Linked DNA regions of Homo sapiens: region 1 is linked to region 2. The links are contacts of gene promoters, found by promoter capture Hi-C in blood cells and fetal thymus (Javierre and others, 2016). All regions are on one chromosome and are shown on one strand. The core of a region is centred on a gene start or on the middle of the fragment in contact, and the rest is flanking DNA. Distances in the headings are between cores, read along the strand shown. Region 1 overlaps SLC30A5 (solute carrier family 30 member 5). Region 2 holds the start of KGD4 (alpha-ketoglutarate dehydrogenase subunit 4).

The links. The method cuts DNA at HindIII sites, captures the fragments that hold promoters and counts their contacts. A CHiCAGO score of 5 or more calls a contact.
Region 1: a fragment that was not itself captured here is called in contact with the fragment with the promoter of KGD4 in region 2 in 1 of 17 cell types (total B cells); the score reaches 5.4 in total B cells.

Annotation. Positions count from the first base shown.
Region 1 is chr5:69,125,998-69,130,982 of GRCh38, forward strand. SLC30A5 (solute carrier family 30 member 5) reads left to right here. Exons shown (of 16, transcript NM_022902.5): 15 at 2,007-2,135; 16 at 3,450-4,985. The coding sequence ends at 3,620. Among named protein-coding and RNA genes, the nearest start is that of SNORA50D, 32 kb to the right of the region's middle. The HindIII fragment of the contact is 1,765 bases long and covers 2,668-4,432 here.
Region 2 is chr5:69,214,540-69,219,553 of GRCh38, forward strand. KGD4 (alpha-ketoglutarate dehydrogenase subunit 4) reads left to right here and starts at 3,221. Exons shown (of 4, transcript NM_033281.6): 1 at 3,221-3,332. The coding sequence starts at 3,291. RefSeq lists an enhancer at 3,503-3,797. The HindIII fragment of the contact is 5,941 bases long and covers 2,275-5,014 here.

The DNA of each region.
Region 1 (4,985 bases), core at 2,300-4,799, 88 kb before region 2:
AAAAATCACACCACTGTACTCCAGCCTGGGCAACAGAGCAAGACTGTCTCAAAGGAAAAACAGTCATGTAGAAAAATAAGATGAGAATATAAACCAGCAATTCCTAGAAATAAACAAATATAAAATAGACTCTCTTTCACCTCGTGGTTTACTACATCATATTAAAGTAATTGGGATCTGCTGATGAAAAGATAGCATCTTGAATATTTAAGTTCTATCATCTTAACCCATTGTTTTCATAAATAAAATTAGTAAAGTTATCTCACCTCATAGTTATTGGATAGTAGTACATCATGGGGTTTTTTTAAGTTTTTGTTTGTTTGTTTTGTTTTTAAATAGAGCTGGGGTTTCTCAATGTTGCCCGGGCTGGTCTTGAAATCCTGAGCTCAAGCTTTGGCCTTCCAAAGTGAGGGATTATGGGCGTGAGCCACCGCGCCTGGCCTAAAGTATTTTTTATTTCAATAATAATATATGTCTGTTGTAGGCCAGGCGTGGCGGCTCACACCTGTAATCCCAGAACTTTGGGAGGCCGAGGCGGGCGGATCACAAGGTCAGGAGTTTGAGACCAGCCTGGTCAATATGGTGAAACCCCATCTCTACTAAAACTACAAAAAATACAAAAATTAGCTGGGTGTGGTGGCACGTGCCTGTAGTCCCAGCTATTCGGGAGGCTGAGGCAGAAGAATCGCTTGAACCCAGGAGGCAGAGGTTGCAGTGAGCCGAGATCACACCACTGCACTCCAGCCTGGGCGACAGAGTGAGACTCTGTCTTAAAAAAACAAACAAACAAACAACAACAACAACAACAACAAAATATATATATATATGTATATATATCCATTGCAGAAAACTTCAAAATATAGAAAAGTGCAAAAAAGAAAAAAAAAAATCACATAATTTTACCACCTGGAAAGAAATACTTTTTGTTTCCTTCCCATTCTACAAAAAGCCATGTAAAGAAACATTTTTACAAGTTGTTTCCATATTAAAATTTTGAAAATAAAAATGGCAAAAAACTTTCGTAATGTTTTATAAATTTTCTCCCCACTTAATAATGTCATGTTGATTAATATTCTAATACATTGTTAATGACTGCATTATTACATTGTATGGGCAGTCAATCATTTATTTAACCAATCCTCTGTTGTTGAACATTGAGGATATCTTTTGAATGTGTTATCTCTATATAACAAATAATGTGCATATGAATGTGTCCGTGTAAAGGAGAACTTGTAGTTCATTGAATGTGTCTAGGTCATGATTAGAATAGGCAGAGTTGTGCTGTATCAGGGAAAATAAGGGTACTGCTATTGATAAGAGCCCATTTTAGGTATAAAGATAACTGTAACAGCTGGGCACGGTGGTCCACACCTATAATCCTAGCACTTCGGGAGGCTGAGGTGGGTGGATTGCCTGAACTCAGGAGTTCGAGACCAGCCTGGGCAACATGGTGAAACCCCATCTGTACTAAAATACAAAAAAAAAAAAAAAAAAAAAATTTAGCCAGGCGTGGTGGCGTGCACCCGTAGTCAGCTACTTGGGAGGCTGAGGCAGGAGAATTGCCTGAACCTGGGAGGCTGAGGTTGCAGTGAGCCAAGATGGTGCCACTGCACTCCAGCCTGCGACAGAGCAAGACTGTCTCAAAAAAAACAAAAACGAACAAAATAAAGATACCTGTAACACCCATTTGCCTTCCTACTCAGAGCTGCCATACTAGCATCATTCCTAGGTGAGATTTTTTTTCCCCCACACATCTGTAGCCTCCAGAAATAGATCAGAATATTTTAGGCACCTTTACTTTAAGCTATTTTCCCATCTCCTATTCCTTCCTGCTTCTGGCTTCTCATTATGGCTGGTTTTTTGTTTGTTTTGTTTTGTATTTTAAAGAGCTTAATAGTGATCCTGGACCAAGGAATCTGTGTGTTTACTTTCTGTCAGAAAGCATCTCCATTGTGTTGTGTAAAGTAGCCTGTATGACCATTTATATCACCTCTTTTATTTGACAGATACAGAAAATTGAAGGATTAATATCATACCGAGACCCTCATTTTTGGCGTCATTCTGCTAGTATTGTGGCAGGAACAATTCATATACAGGTGACATCTGATGTGCTAGAACAAAGAATAGTACAGCAGGTAATCTTTTGTTTTTAAAGTAATTTTAATTGAGGTCATTCATACCCAAAATTGTACACCTCATAAGTTATATGGCTCAGTAGTCATTTACTATTCAGAAATATCAATCTTCCAACTCTTTTTTTTTTTTTTTTTTTGAGACAGGGTCTCACTCTGTTGCCCAGGCTGGAGTGCAGTGGCGTGATCTCGGCCCACTGCAACCTCCGCCTCCTGGGTTCAAGCAGTCTCCCTGCCTCAGCCTCCCAAGTCGCTGGGATTATAGGCACCCGTCACCATGCCCGCCTATTTTTGTTTGTTTGTTTGTATTTTTAGTAGAGATGGGGTTTCGCCATGTTGGCCAGTCTAGTCTCAAACTCCTGACCTCAGGTGATCCGCCTGCCTCGACCTCCCAAAGTGCTGGGTTTATAGGCAAGCCATCATGCCCGGCCTAATCTTCCAAATCTGTAACGGTAATATAGCTTACTTTTTACATCTAGATTTGTTTTATATCTAAAAATTGCTAAAATAAATGAAGTTTTGTGTTTAGAGGATAAGCTTTAATTAATATAAAAAAATTCATTTATGAGTTTGATTAATCTTGGTTTCCAGTAGATTATCAAAAAATAAGTTATTATAAATATATTCCTAAATTAGTAATAATCAACTTGGCAGGGTATATGCTATGTTTGGAGATAGAGGTCAGAATAGTTACTAAAGCCCTGTTCTAGATGTGCCAAATTGGAAACAATGGCTGTTTTCCTTTTCTACTGTGAATGTCAAATCAGTAATTTACTGACCTAAAAGAGTCTAATATTTTAACTAACTAAATGATGAATATTACTTCGAAGATTTATCTTGGACTACTGTAACTGTTTGTTTGTTTGTTTACTCATTCATTTTAGAGACAAGATCTCACTATGTTGCCCAGGCTGGTCTCAAACTCCTGGGCTCAAGCGATCCTCCTGCCTCAGCCTCCCTGGGCCACTGTGCCTGGCCTGTAACTATTTTAAAAATGTGACACAGGTTTAATATTCCTTATCTAAAATGCTTGGAACCAGAAGTGTTTTCGATTTGCGATTTTATTTTTTTTAATACTCGCATTACGCTTACCAGTTGAGCATCCCTAATCTGAAAATCCAAATCCAAAATGCTCCAATGAGCATTTCCTTTTAACACCATCTTGGCACTCAAAAAGTTTCAGATTTTAGAGCGTCTCAGATTTCGTATTTTCAGATTAAAGATACTCAACCCGTATCAACTATGTACAGCATATTAAGACGTGTGTACTAAATGCATTACTCTAAATGCTTCAAAATATCTGGATTTTTATAACAGGTTACAGGAATACTTAAAGATGCTGGAGTAAACAATTTAACAATTCAAGTGGAAAAGGAGGCATACTTTCAACATATGTCTGGCCTAAGTACTGGATTTCATGATGTTCTGGCTATGACAAAACAAATGGAATCCATGAAATACTGCAAAGATGGTACTTACATCATGTGAGATAACTCAAGAATTACCCCTGGAGAATAAACAATGAAGATTAAATGACTCAGTATTTGTAATATTGCCAGAAGGATAAAAATTACACATTAACTGTACAGAAACAGAGTTCCCTACTACTGGATCAAGGAATCTTTCTTGAAGGAAATTTAAATACAGAATGAAACATTAATGGTAAAAGTGGAGTAATTATTTAAATTATGTGTATAAAAGGAATCAAATTTTGAGTAAACATGATGTATTACATCATCTTCAAAAATAGATATGATGGATTCTAGTGAAGACCAAAATTACTTCTGTTTACTTTCTATCAGGAAGCATCTCCATTGTAAATATGTATTTACATGTTTATTACAAAGACCCAAATGAAAAATTTTTAGTCCATTTTTTGCATAGCCTAAAGATAAAATAGGAATAAAAGTTCTATATTTATGGATTTTCTGTATATAAAACTGGTTTCTAATTATAACTTAAGTCCATTAAGTAAAATCTGTATTGCCACTTTAAATGTAAACTAAATTATTTGGGAGAAACTTCAACCACTGATATGAGATAAGCAATGAGAATAGGGAAGTGTATAACATCACAGTTTTTGATGTATTACAAAAATCAACCACTCTATAAAATAAATTTTTTTTACTTTTGGTAATATTTGCAAATGAATAATTAATTTATTAGGGTAAAGAACTTATACTAAGTTGTGTCCATGTTATTCATTTACTTACCATGTTCCTTTAAAGTAGAATATTTCCTTTCTTGTTATATATTTGACATTCCAAGCTGCTTATCAAGCTGGTATCCAAGCAGTGGTAAGCTTTCATCCTTTCTTAGCTCCATAACGTTGTGAAACAGCCAGTTAAGAGAATCGTAAATAATTGTCAACTCACAGTTGAATTCTCTGCCTATGTAGGTAACTTTTTTCTAATTTCTGGAACATATAGATATATAAGAAATATCAAAGAATAGGTAGTTATTTCAAAGTTTAATAAGTAAAACTTGTTCATAAACATTTGAGCACCATGAAATCAAAATACCCTATAACTACTTTCTATAGTCATATCTAATTTATATTTTTTTCATTTCCAGTTGTAACTAGATATGTAGTAAAGTCTGAAAAGACTTTACCATAGACAATAACATGCAGTTTTATCAGCACCAAAGAATGTTGTCCAAAAGAAACTTTTTAATACCTGTCTTTCTATTTATAACATCTGAATATTTTCATTCTTATATTAAGAATTTTGATAAGTAGATTGAATTTAGTATGAGTACTATTTTCTTATATATACCACAATGGCAAACATGTATTATAAATCATATTTTTGTCTTACCAATTTTAATATATGAGGGGTTTTAGAAATTTGT
Region 2 (5,014 bases), core at 1,971-4,470:
AACCATCATGGATGAGATTAAGGCCCTTAAAAAAAGGTTTGAGGGCCAGGCACAATGGCTCACACCTGTAATCCCAGCATTTTGGGCGGCCAAAGTGGGCCGATCACCTGAGGTCAGGAGTTCAAAGCCAGCCTGTCCAACATGGCAAAACCCCATCTCTACTAAAAATACAAAAATTAGCTGGGTGTGGTAGAGGGCGCCTGTAATCCCAGCTACTTGGGAGGCTGCAACAGGAGAATCGCTTGAACCCAGGAGATGGAGGTTGCAGTGAGCCGAGATTGTGCCACTGCACTCCAGCCTGGGTGACAGAACAAGACTGTCTCAAAAAAAAAAAAAAAAAAAGTTTGAGGGAATGGGTTCCTTCTCTTCTGCCCTTCTGCCATGTGAGCACACAGTGTTAAACCCCTCGGATGAAGCAGTGTTCAAAGCACCATCTTGGAAGAAAAGACTGAGCCCTCACAAAACACCGAAACTGCTGGTACTTTGATCTTAGACTTTTGAGCCTCCTGAACATGAGAAATAAATTTCTGTGGTTATAAATTACCCATACTAAGGTATTTTGTTACAGTAGCACACATGGACTAACAGAGGAGCTAATCAACATTTATAGAATACTCCACCAAACAACAGCAGAACACTCTTTTCAAGTGCTTACAGAACATAAACAACATAGACCATATCCTGGATGACAAAATATCAACAAATATAAAAGAATTGAAATTATACAGACTGTGTTCTGACTACAAGGGAATCAAATGAGGAATCAGTAACAGTCAGATAACAGGAAAATTTCCAAATACTTGGAAACTGAACACACTTTTAAATGAGGCATAGGTCAAAGGAGTCTCAAATGAAAATTTTCTAAAAAGCATTGAACTGGGCCAGGTGCGGTGGCTCACACCTGTAATCCCAGCACTTTGGGAGGCCAAGGTGGGCGGATCACCTGAGGTCAGGAGTTTGAGATCATTCTGGCCAACACGGAGAAACCCTGTCTCTACTAAAAATACAAAAATTAGCTGGGCGTGGTGGTGGGCACCTGTAATCCCAGCCACTCAGGAGGATGAGGCAGGAGAATCAGTTGAACCCAGGAGGCAGAGGTTGCATTGAGCTGAGATCATGCCACTGCATCCAGCCTGGGTGTCACAGCGAGACTCTGTCTCAAAAAAAAAAAAAAATTATCGGCTGGGCACGGTGGCTCACACCTGTAATCCCAGCACTTTGGGAGGCTGAGGCGGGCAGATCACGAGGTCAGGAGATGGAGACTATCCTGGCTAACACAGTGAAACCCTGTCTCTACTAAAAATACAAAAAAAATTAGCCTGGTGTGGTGGCGGGTGCCTGTAGTCCCAGCTACCTGGGAGGCTGAGGTGGGAGAATGGTGTGAACCAGGGAGGCGGAGCTTGCAGTGAGCCGAGTTGGCACCACTGCACTCCAGCCTGGGTGACAGAGCAAGACTCTGTCTCAAAAAAAAAAAGAATTACCACAGATGAATGGATAAGCAAAATGTGGTATACACATATAATGGGATTTTTTCAGCCTTAAAAAAGAAATTCTGACACATTCTACAACATGAATGAACTCTGAAGACATGCTAAGTGAAACAAGCTAATTACAAAAGGACAAATACTGTTATGGCTCCACGTACATTAAGTACCCACAGTAGTCAAATTCATAGACAGAAAGTAAAATGATAGTTGTCAGAGGCTGAGGGAAGGAGGAATAAGTTTTTGTTTAATGGGTACAGTTTCTGAAGATGGTAACAATTGCCCAACAATGTGAATGTACTTAATGTGACTGAACTGCACATTTGAAAATAATTAAAATGGGGCCAGGCGCAGTGGCTCACGCCTGTAATACCAGCACTTAGGGAGGCTGAGGTGGGTGGATCACTTGAGGCCAGGAGTTGGAGATTAGTCTGGCCAATATGGTGAAACTCTGTCTCTACCAAAAATACAAAAATTAGCCAGGCGTGGTGGCGGGCGTCTGTAATCCCAGCTACTGGGGAGGCTGAGGCTGGAGAATTGCTTGAATCCAGGAGGCAAAGGTTGCAGTGACCTGAGATCACGCCACAGCACTCCAGGCTGGGCAACAGAGCGAGACTCCGTCTCAAAAAAAAAAAAAAAAACCACAAAAACAAAACAAAACAAAACGGGTTAATGGCCTCTCTGTAGTCACTGAATCCCAATAGACCATACCTGGGTTCAGTAATTTATATTTCTAAAAAGATCCCAAGACTTAGAAATCACTGATGTATATCATCAAACACATTGGTCAAGCTTACAATACTATATATAACCTAAGCATTATCACAGAACGTAATGTAACTTTTTTTTTTTTTGAGACGGAGTCTCCCTCTGTCGCTCAGGCCGGAGTGCAGTGGCACACTCTCGGCTTACTGCAACCTCTGCCTTCTGGGTTCAAGCAATTCTCCTGCCTCACCTCCTGAGTAGCTGGGACTACAGGCGCCCGCCACCACGCCCGGCTAATTTTTGTATTTTTAGTAGAGACAGGGTTTTACAATGTTGGCCAGTCTGGTGTCGAACTCCTGACCTCAAGTGATCCGCCCGCCTCAGCCTCCCAAAGTGCTGGCATTACAGGCGTGAGCCATAGCGCCCCGCCCGTAATGTAATTTTGGGGGAAAGATATGAGTGGCTTACATTTCAAATATTTCTGAATTTTTGAGTTATCTCAACTTGAAGCAAAGGCCCAGCAGTTCGATATCAGGAGTAATAAACGGTAAAGAAAACAGAAACAAATTACAATCAAGCAATGCCAATCAGCAAGAGAGTGTGACATGGCCCTTTTTAAGCCAGAGTAAACTCTTGTGAGCTTGCCACTAACTCCCATTTTAACGAAATTATTCATTTTAGGAAACCGCAAGGTTTTTTTTTTGTTTTTCTTTAATTTTTTTAATCTTTGCAAGAGCTGTCAGATAAGAAGGTTGTATTATTTATTTGGTTCCAGATAAAATTTTGAACTATATCGAAATTATAGACTGGCTTTCTGGAAAGGAAATGGTCCTAGACAATTTATAGGCTAATGAGCAGAGACCCACCTTAACAAAATTTTGTCCCCAAAACGAAACAATAGAACACACGTGGGTGGATCCTAGTAGGGAGAAGGGGTGGGCGGGGTCAGGCACAGGGGGCGGAGCCAGCCCCACGGCGGAGGAGAGCCCAGTCCGGTCTCCGCCTCCGTGACGTCCCGGGAAGCACCGCCCACAGCTGCCCGGGACTCCAGTGATCGCCGCGGCTCGCTCGCGCCCCGGAAACTGCCCCTTCTCGGGGGTCATGATGGGCAGCAAGATGGCGTCTGCTAGTAGGGTCGTTCAGGTAAAGCAATTTGTCGCGTTTCCGCATCTTGGGCGGTAGGGACGGTGCTGACTATGGCGACGGCGTCGGGGAGTAAAGGCGGTGGCAGAGGCAGAGCGGTGACCGCGCCTCTGCGGAGGGCCAGTGACGGCGCCCGCGGGTGTGTGTGAGGATGGGACTTTGAGCCTGTTGGACCGGGCAGTGAGGTGGGTCCGGCGCCGAGGGTTCGAGCCTTGCGGCAACCGTGCAGCATCTTGGCAGGTAGGTCCTGTACCTACTGCCGGGATCCCCCGCTCCTCCGCCAGGACCTTGTTAGTCTTAGGCGTGTGCGGGTGAGGCGACCCTGGCGGTAGCCTGGCCAATCGCCGTCTAGGATTGGCTGTGGTGCCCCCGATCAGCCAATCGGAAGGAAGGCGGTAGCGGGGCGTGGAAGGAAGCGAACCCTGGATCTGACCCACTGTCCCTTCAAGGTCTCGGGAATGGTCGGGCAACTGGCCCCGCGTACTGCGTCCTCGCCGGAGCGGGTTCTCCCCAACCTCTCCAAGCGTCTGGCTACAGGCCAGATGAGGGAAATAGAAAAGTAAACTTAAGTTTAATTAGTATGTGTGTGTGTATATTAATGTGTGTGTGTGTGTGTGTGTGTGTGTGTATAAGCGTTGGTTTCACAAGCCTATTTTCCCCTGGTTTAGATAGACAGCTAAAGTAACTTTGTTAATCCACCTATCAGCTACTAACTCCTGATAGCCTTTTTATTTGTTTCTTCAGCTGTGGTTCTAACTTAGGTAAAATTATTATATAAGTGGAACACAACCTCCACTTTTGTGGTTGGTTTACATAGTCTTTGAACCCTGAAACTATATTATTTTATAATTGACTTTTATCTTTGATATGAGAAGTACATTCCGCTTTATATAAGTACATCTCTTAAAAGACCTTTTTCTAAATTCCTGAAATTGTTGTCTGAATGATAATCCTAGATCCCAGTCTTTGGTCCCATTGCAATGAATGATCCTTACTTATTCAGTAGGTAGTTACTGAGCATCAACTAGTTAAAGATTCTGTAAGGACTGAGAGACTGACAAAGGTCTGTTATCCATAATATATAACCATATGTATCAATAATATATAACAATTTAAAAATGGGTAAAAGACTTGGCGTGTTGCACAAAAGATACCCAAATGAGCAATGAACATTTTAAAAGGTGCTCAATATCATTACTTGCCAGGAAAATAAAAATTAAAACCATGAGGTCCTACACATCCACCAAAATGACTAAAATTTAGACGTCAGTGGTGATGAGAATGTGAAGCGTCTGAAACCCTCAATATTGCTGGTGGGAATATAAAATGTTATAGCCACTTTGGAAAGCTGTCAGTCTCTAATAGTTAAGCATGTATCTACCGTATGACCCAGCAATTCTACTCATAGGTTTATTGCCCAAGAGAAGTGAATGCACATACTGTCTCTGTACGTAAATGTTCACAGAAAAAAAAGAGTTACTAGCAAAGAACTGGGGTCCAGAGCTGAGGGGTTCCAGCCTGGCAGCAGGAGTGTGGCATCTCAGCAGGCAGGTACTATATATACTGCCATGGGGTCCCTGGCTCTATTTCTGATAGCCCCCAAACCACAAACAATCTCTATGTCTGTCTTTTGCATAAACAAATTGTGGTAGTTTGTTAAAATAGTACAGTCCAAAGCAATA